Regions from separate parts of the Homo sapiens genome. Here all the other regions are linked to region 3. Evidence: promoter capture Hi-C in 16 types of primary human blood cells and fetal thymus (Javierre and others, 2016). All regions are on one chromosome and are shown on one strand. Each heading gives the region's core, a stretch centred on a gene start or on the middle of the fragment in contact. The rest is flanking DNA. Distances are from core to core; before and after follow the strand shown. Region 1 has its middle 71 kb from the start of KIFC3. Region 2 overlaps SPMIP8 (sperm microtubule inner protein 8). Region 3 holds the start of KATNB1 (katanin regulatory subunit B1). Region 4 holds the start of CNGB1 (cyclic nucleotide gated channel subunit beta 1).

Region 1 (2,700 bases), core at 183-2,682, 140 kb before region 3:
ACTTTGGGAGGCTGAGACGGGTGGATCACATGAGGTCAGGAGTTCAAGACCAGCCTGGCCAAGATGCTGACACCCCTACTCTACTAAAAATACAAAAAGTAGCCGGGCGTGGTGGCACGCGTGTGTGGTCCCAGATGCTCGGGAGGCTGAGGCAGGAGAATTGCTTGAACCCGAGAGGTGGAGGTTGTGGTGAGCCGAGATCACACCACTGTACTACTCCAGCCTGGGTGACAGAGCAAGACTCTGTTAAAAAAAAAAGAAAAAAAAAGGAAGAAGATTCAAAGGATGCTTGATAAACTCATTGTAACCAAAAAATTGTGAGTAACATTTCCTAGATTCAATTTCCTGAGCACTATCTCCTTCGATATCTCTTCTGAAATGAAAAGAAAGACGGCCTGAGTGCCCTTATTTAATTTATTTATTTTTTGAGATGGAGTATTGTTCTGTTGCCCAGGCTGGAGTGCAATGGCGTGATCTCAGCTTACTACAACCTCTGCCTCCCGAGTTCAAGTGATTTCCGGCTAATTTTTGTATTTTTGGTAGAGATGCGGTTTCACCATGATGGCCAGGCTGGTTTCGAACTCCTGACCTCAAGTGATCCTGCCACCTTGGGCTCCCAAAGTACTGGGATTACAGGCGTCAGCCATTGCTCCTAGCCCTTGTATTATTCTTTCAATGGGCATAAGGTGTTGGCATCTCCAGGGGGTCCTCTTCCCTGGTCACCATGGTTGAGTTCCAGATTTAGCAAGTAAAAATACAGAAAGCCCAGGTAAATTTGAATTTCAGATAAACAATGAAGGTTTTTTTTTTTAAGCTTAAGTATATCTCATGCAATACTTGGGATATACTTATGCTAAAAAAAATTGTTATTTATCCAAAATTCAAATTCAACTTGGTGCCCTGTGTTTTTATCTGGCAATTCTGCAAGGTGAGGATGAGTGTCTCTCCTGCCCAGAGCAATTGGGGCTGCACCCTCTAGGGCCAACCTTGGGCCAGAGCCATCCTGGCATGCCCCTTCTCCAGAGCCAATCATGATTGGTGGAGGAAGAGGGAAAGCACCCACCCCAGGCTGCTGTTAGTGGTTTTTGTTTTTTATAGAGATGGGGTATCATTATGTTGCCCAGACTGGTCTAGAACTCCATGCCTCAAGCAATCCTTCTGCCTCCTTGCTGGGATTACAGGCATGTACGACCACGTCCAGCCTGTCCTGTCAGTGTTTCATTGTTCTTGTTTTTGAGACAGGGTCTTGCTCTGTCACCCACGCTGGAGTACAGTGGTTCAATCACAGCTCACTGCAGCCTCGACCTCCAGGACTCAGGTGATCCTCCTGCCACAGACATGCACCTCCACACCTGGCTATTTTTTTTTAACTATTTGTAGAGACGGGGGATAGGGGGTGGTGGGGACAAGTCGGGGGTCTCCCTATGTTGCCCAGGCTGGTCTCGAACTCCCTAACTCAAACAATCCTTTCATCTTGGCCTCCCAAAGTGTTGAGATTACAGATGTGAGCCACCACGTCTGGCCTGCCAGTGGTTTTTTAATATTTATCTTTATTAATTTTATCCTGAATGCACACACACAGGTGTTTGGGATCAGAGACAGATTTTATATTAATTACCTTTTAGCAAATAATAAGTACATAGCCTCCGCTCCCAGCCTCCCCTTAAGCCTTACTCCTGGCCAGGAAATGTCCCGTGCAAGTAGCCTGACACTCCATAGATGAAGGACAAGTTTTCTCTGCTTATAAAGGCGAAGGAGGTAGCTATTCCCCTCCCTTTTTGAAAGGGTCTCCTTGGAAACTTAATGGGCCCGAAACCTAACCCCAGCCCTTTGATATGTAAATAAAGCCTCACCCGGAACGAGATAGCCCCAGGTGTCTCAGCTTTAACCACCTGGAGGGGTCTTCAAGTTCTGGGACTTTCTCCCTTTGACATATAAATACCTAGGGAGATAGCGCCGGAGTCTTCCCGGCATTTTGGAGCTAGCCAAGAGACCTAGGCTCGGCTGTGGCCATTTGGCCGTCTCCCGGAGGGAGGTGAGAGAAGCTTTAGGATCCTTTCTAATCAAGGCAGTTAACTAGACAAATGGCTCCAGAGCGCATTATCAAGAGTCTCGGGAGACTGGGTCCCCACCTTTCACATTTCCAAATTTCTTCCTTTTCTTTCCTTCCTTCCTTCCTTTCTTTTTTCTTTTCTTTTTTTTTTTTTTTTTTTTTTTGACAGAGTCTCGCTCTGTCGCCCAGGCTTGAGTGCAGTGGTGCAATCTTGGCTCACCGCAACCTCCGCCTCCCAGACTAAAGCAATTCTCCTGCCTCCGCCTCCAGAGTGTCTAGAAATACAGGTGCGCGCCACTACCGCCCGGCTAATCTTTGTATTTTTAGTGGAGACAGTGTTTCACCATGCTGGCTAGGCTGGTCTTGAACTCCTGACCTCAAATGATCCACCGCACCCAGCCGCATTTCCAAATTTCTGAAATCAAGTGTTCCTTAATGAAAAGTGGGTAGAGGAGAGGGTCACGTGAAGTGTTTCCAGGCAGGTTCAAAAGAATAATTCAGATACCATGGAAAACTTCCACATATAAGTCAAATGTAAGTAATAAGTTTTAAAATCAGGGCCAGGTGCGCTGGCTCACACCTGTAACCACAGCACTTTGAGAGGCTGAGGCAGCAGGATCACTTGAGCCCAGGAGTTCAATACCAGT
Region 2 (2,700 bases), core at 99-2,598, 250 kb before region 3:
TGGGTTCAAGTGATTCTCCTGCCTCAGCCTCTAGAGTAGCTGGGATTACAGGTGTGCACCACCACATCCAGCTAATTTTTGTATTTTTAGTAGAGATGGGGTTTTGCCATGTTGGCCAGGCTGGCCTCGAACTCCTGGTCTCAGGTGGTCCGCCCGCTTGGCCTCCCAAAGTGCTGGGATTACAGGTGTGAGCCAGCCTGCCCGGCCCCAAGAGAGCTTTCTGATGGGACGTCCTATCCTCCCTCTAAGCCCTGGTCAGATGCCCCCACCCCCAGGAAGCCCCCTTTGGTTTCTTCCCCATTCTTGGTTTGGATCTGTCTGGTAGCAGGCAGGCAGTAGAGCCTGGTGGCCAGAGGCGGGGGATGGGGATGGGGGGCTTAGGCAGGCCAGCTTCAATTCTTAGCTCTGCCAATCACCAGATCTTGGGCCAGCCGCTTAACCTTCCTGAGTCCATTTCATCATCTGTAAAATGGGTGTAAAATTACCCATCTCATGGGGTCTGCAAGATGGTTAATGCATTGCCTTCCACTTAAAAATAGAAATTGTACGTGAAAGCAGACTCATTTATGCTTATGTACTCTGCATTTCCTTTATTCTTAGGCACACATTTTTTATATTTATATTTTATATAAATATATATTATTACATATATACATATACATATTTATATTTATATATTTTATAATCTATTTATATTATTGAAATCAGGATTAAATTTACAATCAGTGGGCAAGAAGCTTTAATTAAATTGCTGGTGTGGGTTGCCATTCATGGGGTTTGGGCTGGGAGAACATGGTCTATGTGTGTACTCATGTGATCACCTCTACTTTCAGGTTCTCATTGGCTGGGCCTGCTGGGCTGGAGGCACTTCAAAGGCAGGGAGGGCATCTTGTCTGTGTCCTCCCAGCACCAGCAAAGGGCCTGGCCCAGGCAAAGCTCTTTAGTGTTCGCTGGGCTGTATTCTGGCAGGGACTTGCCCAGTCATTCAAGGAAGCAGGGCCAGGAAAAACACCCCAGTCACTTGATGCCATCTGGCAGGCTTCAGCATGTCTGCTGGGGTTCTCTGGCTGGCCCACCTCTCCCAGGCCAGGATTCTAGCATCCCTGCTGTGAGCCCTGGGCAAGTCCAGCTCTTCTCTGAGTTGTCATTTGGAGGGGACACTGGGTGGCACAGAATGTGGCTCTGACACTCCAGGCGGCTCTGCCAGTGGCTTCCCAAGTGCAGTCCCAAAGTGGACACATGATTCTGTACATGATTTCAGGAGGTCTGTGGGTCCCTGAAGCCCCAGGTTTCAGGACCAGAAGTCCTATGCAGGTAGATTTTTAGCTTGGTAGCTATTTATCCTGATCTGGGTCCATGCTTGCCAGCTGCCCACAGGTGGGATGGGAGTAGGGTATCTGAAAGGTCCTGGAGCTAAGCACAGATGCTAGCAGCCCTAACTCCCTGATATGGTTTGGCTGTGTCCCCACCCAAATCTCATCTTGAATTGTAGCGCTCTTAATTCCTTCATGTTGTGGGAGGGGGCCAGTGGGAGATAATTGCATCACGGGGGCGGTTTCCCCCATACTGTTCTCGTGGTAGTGAATAAGTCTCACGAGATCTGATGGTCTTATAAGGGAAACGCTTTCGCTTGGCACTCATTCTCTCTTGCTGCCACCATGTAAGAAGTGCCTTTTGCCTTCCACCATGATTATGAGGCCTCCCCAGCCATGTGGAACTGTGAGTCCATTAAACCTCTTTCTCTTCCCAGTCTTGGGTATGTCTTTATCAGCAGCATGAAAACAGACTAATACACCCCCTTACCATGCTGGAGATGCTCTTCCCTAGCCCCCTGGATGGCGTTATTCCAGACCTGGGCCAGGAGTCCCCACACTGTCCCCGGGACATCATACCTTCCTTTCACAGGAGTGGCTTGGAATGGATGGTTGGTGGGTAGACAAGGGCTAGTCCTGAAGCTTCATGGATAGAGCAGAGGACTTTTTGCTTAAATGACATGTTTATTGGTGGTGCTTTGGAGAGCGGGGAACTTTCTTCTCTGAGTGGCTTCATGCATCTCATGCAAGTTTAGACTCTACATTCTGTTGCGTCACAGGAATCAAGGCCATAGGCCTGGCCAGCTCCCCTTGCCCCAGCCTGCTCCCACACCTTCAGGGGGACCCCAGGCACAGGGAAGCCCCCCAGAGCACACCAGTATGACAAGAGCTTCAAAAAGGCACCTAAAAATAGCTTTCTAGCCCTCTCCCTTTCTTCTTAGGGCTCAAATTCAGGATCTGAAATGGAGGGGGCTTGGGTGTGGGGCTGCAGGCAAGGGGCTGGAGCACATCTCTTGCTCTTGGATCTCAATTCTGGCTGGACCTTGCGGCTTACACCCTGACTCTCAAACCAGGTCACCAGACATTTTTCTCCAACCCCCCACCAGTCCTCCAGGAGTTGGCCGGGGACGGGCAAGGGTAAGATACTGTCATCCTGTGGCCCTGACCCTCTCCCAGGCTGTGCAACACACACAGACAGAGACAATTGCGTGTGTCTCTAAGGGAGCATTAGGTTTATTTCTAGTTAGGCTGAACTCCTGGGGAGATGGCTGGTGCCACCATAAGTCCTCTGTCTGGCCAGGGGACCTGAGGTGGCACCGTCCGGCAGCCTGGGAGTCAGCCTCCTTTCCAGAGATTAATGCCAGGGGGTCAGGTAGTTGACACGACT
Region 3 (2,700 bases), core at 173-2,672:
CTCGTGGGGTGGGGGTGGATCCCCCCCCAGATCCACCAATCAAGTTGGCAGAGAGTTCCCACACATCCAGGCAGACAGAATGCCTCGTCTTCTGGCCCTGGGGTGCCTCGTGGTTCCAAATTACCCACAGCAGCAACAGCAGCAGCCTGTGCACATCTGTCACGATCCTGGATCATGGAATGTTAGGCTCGAGCCATCTCAGCTCAATACAGGGCTGCAATACAAACAAGAGGTGACGTCATGTTAGAAAATGCTTGGTAAGAGCTGTTGCTCCCTGGATCACCAAGACCACTTGATAAAGACTGACACCCACCAAAGCCACCAGAGTCAGAAGCTGCACTGCAAATTAGGTTTGGGAATCTGCAGAGGGGGCACCTCAGGTAGGGTGATTTGGAACGTAAGGAAAAAGAAACTCCTCCCAGAGGCCAGGATAATGAGCTGCAGCTCTGTTCCGGGATGCTGGCTGCCTAAAGTGCAGCAGCCGCAGTGGGGCGGAGAAGACCACGTGTCTGCAATTCACATAGATTTCCTGCGAGTCGTTGTTTTTGTCTGACGTGTGGGATGTGGGAGAGCGGAGTCAGAAGCTAAGCTTAGGGGCCTAGGAAAGGCATCCCAGAGACGGCCACTGAAGTCCTCCTTGGAAAGAATCTCGAAGACGACCCTGATGGTCCAATTCCCCAGCTCCTGGCAAGGGAACCGCTCCTGCTCCCTGCGATTCCCAAGGACAGAGCTAGGAACTAGGCCTCCAGTCTGGGCGTAAGTGGCTATGACTCTTCAACTCTAAAAGGCCTCCTCATGGAGCCTCCCACCTCCTTCCCACAGCCACTTCACCTCTTTCCCATGAGCCCGCTCCCCTCCGTCCCCTTTCTCCTGGGTCCCCGGGTCTGCCTCTCTAGTCCTCCGTTCACACCCCCTTTTCTCCCTGCCCCCTGAGTCTCCCACTTATGCACATCCTGTCTCCCGATATCCCTCACGTGGCCCCTGCCTCGCCAGACTCCCGTTACTGCCCTTTCCCATATGCTCGCGGGGTCTCCCATTCATTCATTCTCCTACTTCTCTTCTCCCTATTCATTACCTGTCCTTCTGCAGACCCCCAGCTCTGCTTCCGGCCTCCCTGGTTTTGCCCCCTCCGGCCTCCACCCCGACCCCTCTCGTCCGGGGGCGGGGGCAGGTCCCTCGGCCACGGCTGATCCTCCCAACCCTCTGCTTGCGGAGTACGGGCTCTAGCCTCCCCACGCTCAGAGCTCTCTGCCCGCAAGCCCAGCCAGCCCCGCCTGGCTCGGCCCAGCCCAGGGCCCACCGTCCCCTCGCCACCTCGTCCCCTTGCCCACTCCACCTGCAGCTGCGGCTCCGGAGGCCGAGGCTCCGCTCCAGGCGCGACCCCCACTTGCCTCCATCCCCTGCCTTGATTGGCCGCTGCTTGACAACCGACCCTCACAACAAAACCTCCGGCTCAGAGCCCCGCCCACCTTGCCTCCCGCACCAATCAGCTGCCGCGGGTGCTCCGCCTCCTGCCAGGACTGACCAATGGAAGCAGGCGCTTCTGCCGCTTTTCCTCAGTACCCGCCCTCTTTTCCTAAATAGGACTAATCAAGAGGAAGGAACGTTCAAGAGCCGCCCCTTGGCCTCTAATAAACCAATGCAAGCTGCCGTTTCCTTAGTCCCGCCTCCGTCTCAAGTTTTCCCTTTCCTCTCCGTTTCCTCCCTCGAACCTAATTTGTGTCTGAAAACTTTTGAGAGCCGCCCTCCAATGGCGGCTGCGCCAATGGCTTGAGCAACCGTCCTGGATTGACCAATCAGCGTCCGCATTATTGGAAAACTCAATTCCCAGATAGCCAATGGGAAAGGAACTTCGGGGGCAGTGTGAAGCCTCAGGCCTTCCATCTTGGAGTGGGGCAAAACCTAAGGAGGCCTTAGTCGGCATTTTGCCGAAGCTCCTCATTCTTCACTTTGCCTGCAGATGGTCCCCCGTGGCAGGAGGACTTTGTCCCTGTTCTTTGACCCGGACGCCGGCTTGAATCCCCCATGGGAGGTCTAGAAGGAAACAGCCTGATTCCGGAGCCGAGGCAGGCGCTGAACCCTGTAGCACTGCACACGCAGCCACCGCCTCGACTAATGGATGCGTGGGCAAGGGGCTGCTCCCTGAATGGCTGCAATCAGGGAATCGGAGAAAGGCCAGCTTTATTTGTGACACGTTGGGCGGGGTGGGCTCTGGGAAGCGCCGTAACCCTTCTCGACTCAGGGCCTCTCGCGTGGCCGCTTAGGAGGGACTTGGCCCCGCAGCCGCCTCTCCCTGTTGCCCAGAGGTTGTCCCAGGCACCCAGAGCCCCTCGAACCTTGCCCTTCGGCCTCCAGCCTCTCACCGCAGGTCAGGGCTCCTTGGGCTCACATAACGCCCAGTACAACCATAAGAGGTAGGAATTCCTGTTCCCATTTACAGATGAGGAAACTGAGGCCCGGGTTAAGATGCTTGCAGAAAACCACACGGTCAGAAAGTAATAGCCCCAGAATTCGAACCCTTGTTCTGAAAGCCAAAGCGTGGGGGAGTCCCCACTCTGCCTTCTGCTTCAGCCTTCTGCTTCAGATTCTCCTGCTTCAGCCTCCTGGGTAGCTGGAACCACAGGCGCCCGCCACCACGACGGGCTAAGGCTAGTTTTTATATTTTTAGTAGAGACGGGGTTTCTCCATTTTGGCCAGGCT
Region 4 (2,700 bases), core at 101-2,600, 240 kb before region 3:
TAAAACTACACTCCTTCCTGTGGCTTACAGTCTCACAACATCTGCCCCTGCCCTCTGTCAACCTCATCTCCCACCACTCTCCCCTGCACCCGTTAAGCTCCAGGCTCCCCGGTTCCCATTCTGCTCCTCAAGGCTCATTCCAGCCTCAGAACCTTTCTCGTTGCAGTGTCCTTGGCCTGGAGCACCACTCACCCAGCTTTTTTCACAGCTGAGTCTTTCTTACTTTTCATGTCTCAGTTCAAATATACATCCACCTCGTCATAGGGGCCTGCCTACCTGCCCCTACTGCCCTCCACAACATGCTTCTGCCCTGTTTGTTTCTTTTATGGCACTTAGCATAATTTGCAATATTCTTTATTTGTCAGTAATCTCCTCCATTGGAATGTAAGCTCCATGAGGACAGGGCCTATGTCTGTCTTGCTCAGTGTGCCAAGGCTGGCACACTGCCAGGCACAAAGGAAGAGCTCTAGGCCAGGTGCAGGGGCTTACATCTGTAATCCCAATACTATGAGAGGCTGAGGCAGGAGGATTGCTTGCATCCAGGAGTTTGAGAGGTTGAGGCTGCAATGAGCTGTGATTGCACCACTTCACTTAGCCTGAGTGACAGAGAGAGACTGTGGCTTAAAAAAAAAAAAAAAAAAAGGAAAGGAAAGGAAAGGAAGAACTCTAGAAATGGTGCGGATAATTAAGTCAAGTCCTGCCCTTTGCCAAATATCCCTCAGGGCCACCACACTGAGCCCCTCTTCCTTGGGCCCTGTCCCTTGCACCCTCTCCTCCTAGATCTCTGTATCCCTTCAAGTGTCCAGCCTCAGTTCACAGGGCAGGTCAGATGCCTCAGTCATCTGCCGGGTCTTGGATCCATCCTCAAGGCCCAGGCCTGGGACACAGCCTTTCTGGCAGAGCCCAAGGCAGGGCTGCTGAGACCCTGCCCAGAGAAGACTCTAAGCCAGAAAGAACCTGCCTGCGTCCTGGCCTGGGGGCTGGAGAGTTGGGGTACACCTCTTGCCACCGCTGAGTGGGAGCTGACAAGCCCCTGCTACCATGAGGAGTCTCCAGGCATCACATGGGAACTCCAAGCTGTTATTCTCCCATCAGCCACTCCGTGTCTTGGCCAAGGTGTATGGGAAGCCAGGCCCCTGGTAAGCCGGGCAGGTCCCCTGGCAACCCATGGTGCTCCAAACCTGGGCCATGCAGGAGCCCTTCCCTGGGGCCCACATCCTTGCTGGACCCTGGGAGTTGGGAGGTGCTGCTGGTTTCCTGGGCATCAACAGCCTCTTTTCTCCCCCTCCCCCATTCAGCACCTGCTAATCCTTTGCACACGGCCCAGCTACTGCCAATTAATCTTCCTTGTGTCTGAGGGGCCAGCTACGAGTGGCAGCAAGAAGGCAATTCCTGGCTGGCGGTTGGCATCTAAGCAGGTAACTCAGGGTGAGGTGGAGGCTCGGTGGGACCCCGAGGGGATCCCCATGTTCTCCCTCTAGAAAGGCATTTAGGTAGGACCAAACTGGCACGGTGGGAAACCTGTGGCTTCCCTCTATCTGGTGGAGCTTGGACTTTAGCGGGCATCAGAATTTTCAGGACAGCTTGTACAATGCAAATTCCTAGGTCCCCCAGGAGGACTTGGGGGACCTAGGAATCTATATTTTCACTAGCTCTCCAGAAGACTCTGGAAATGCTGGTGGTGCAACACCATGGCTCCCCGAGCTGCCACTCGTGGGTCCCCCTTCCCACCTGAGCCTCCCTCATCAAAGTGCAGTCAGCAGGGACACGGGTGAAAGATGGGAGGGACCTGCAAAAATTCTCATTTAGGAGGAAAAAGAAAAATGGGGGATCGGGGAGGCTTCCTTAGTCATTTCCAGAAGGTTTAGAAATGCAAGCGAGAATTGCTGCCTGCTGGGAAGGGTCTACAGGCCTGGCCCGCGGAAGAGGCCAACACTCGGCAAATGCCACGACTACCTGGGAATACATGTGGGGCAGCTGGAATCGGGCAGACCTGAGTGTAAACTCAAGTTGGCCACTGCCGGCTGTGCTGCTTCAGGCGATTCTGTTGACCTTTCTGTGCTACATAATGAAAATTCTTATTTTACTGAGTGCAGGGGCTGGGCGGGGCGTGGTGGTGAGAGCGAGGATGAGTATGATCATGGGTAGAATGCACTTAGCTCAGCCCTGGCTCTCGGGGCTGCCTGGGGCTGGCTGGGGTCAGTGAAATCTGCTATCCCAACATGTGAGCTCTGGCAGTCCCGACCTGGGAAAACATTGTGTCTGTGCCCCCACCTTCAGGGAAATGGAAGACCAGAGGGGTCATGTCTGGCCCAAGTTCATTTTTTGGGAGGCTGAGCCAGGGATCTGACACTTAGAGCTGTGTTCCCACCACAGCCTCTCGTGGGAGAGGCTGGGCTGCTGATGCCAGAGTGGGAACAGAGGTCAGGGCTGTAAGTAGAGGACAGGCAGCACAGCCGTGGGCTCTGGGGAGCTGGGCTTGGGGGCAAGGATCCTGGGCCTGGGCTGCCCTCTTCAGCTGGGGCCAGGGTCCCTGGCAGAAAGGGGCATACAGACTCTCTGCCAAAGCCCGGGTTGCCCATGGCTGGGAGAGGGGTGGGGCACACTCATGTGGGGCAAGAACACATCTAGGGCTAGGAGTTAGCACACACTGACCTGCACGCTGCGCACTGGCCAGGCCATCCTGCAGGGGTTCAGTCA

What was found. Contacts are between HindIII fragments. The CHiCAGO score rates a contact against its expected background, and 5 or more counts as called.
Region 1: a fragment that was not itself captured here is called in contact with the fragment with the promoter of KATNB1 in region 3 in 1 of 17 cell types (M0 macrophages); the score reaches 6.5 in M0 macrophages.
Region 2: a fragment that was not itself captured here is called in contact with the fragment with the promoter of KATNB1 in region 3 in 1 of 17 cell types (M1 macrophages); the score reaches 5.6 in M1 macrophages.
Region 4: a contact is called between the fragment with the promoter of CNGB1 here and the fragment with the promoter of KATNB1 in region 3, in 1 of 17 cell types (M0 macrophages). The highest score is 5.2, in M0 macrophages.

The regions. Positions count from the first base shown.
Region 1 is chr16:57,872,588-57,875,287 of GRCh38, reverse strand. No RefSeq gene overlaps it. Among named protein-coding and RNA genes, the nearest start is that of KIFC3, 71 kb to the right of the region's middle. RefSeq lists an enhancer at 1,627-2,154. The HindIII fragment of the contact is 1,231 bases long and covers 817-2,047 here.
Region 2 is chr16:57,987,394-57,990,093 of GRCh38, reverse strand. SPMIP8 (sperm microtubule inner protein 8) reads right to left here. Exons shown (of 8, transcript NM_199456.3): 8 at 1,978-2,698. The coding sequence ends at 2,668. Among named protein-coding and RNA genes, the nearest start is that of ZNF319, 12 kb to the left of the region's middle. The HindIII fragment of the contact is 1,218 bases long and covers 740-1,957 here.
Region 3 is chr16:57,734,492-57,737,191 of GRCh38, reverse strand. It overlaps KATNB1 (katanin regulatory subunit B1), which reads right to left and starts at 1,422. Exons shown (of 20, transcript NM_005886.3): 1 at 1,337-1,422; 2 at 1-214. It overlaps LOC107984852 (a long non-coding RNA gene), which reads left to right and starts at 548. Exons shown (of 2, transcript XR_001752221.3): 1 at 548-756; 2 at 1,585-2,700. RefSeq lists enhancers at 227-296, 1,665-1,834, 1,581-1,875, 1,855-1,964, 2,594-2,700 and a silencer at 1,115-1,354. The HindIII fragment of the contact is 9,286 bases long and covers 592-2,700 here.
Region 4 is chr16:57,969,778-57,972,477 of GRCh38, reverse strand. CNGB1 (cyclic nucleotide gated channel subunit beta 1) reads left to right here and starts at 1,350. Exons shown (of 33, transcript NM_001297.5): 1 at 1,350-1,418. The HindIII fragment of the contact is 12,254 bases long and covers 1-2,700 here.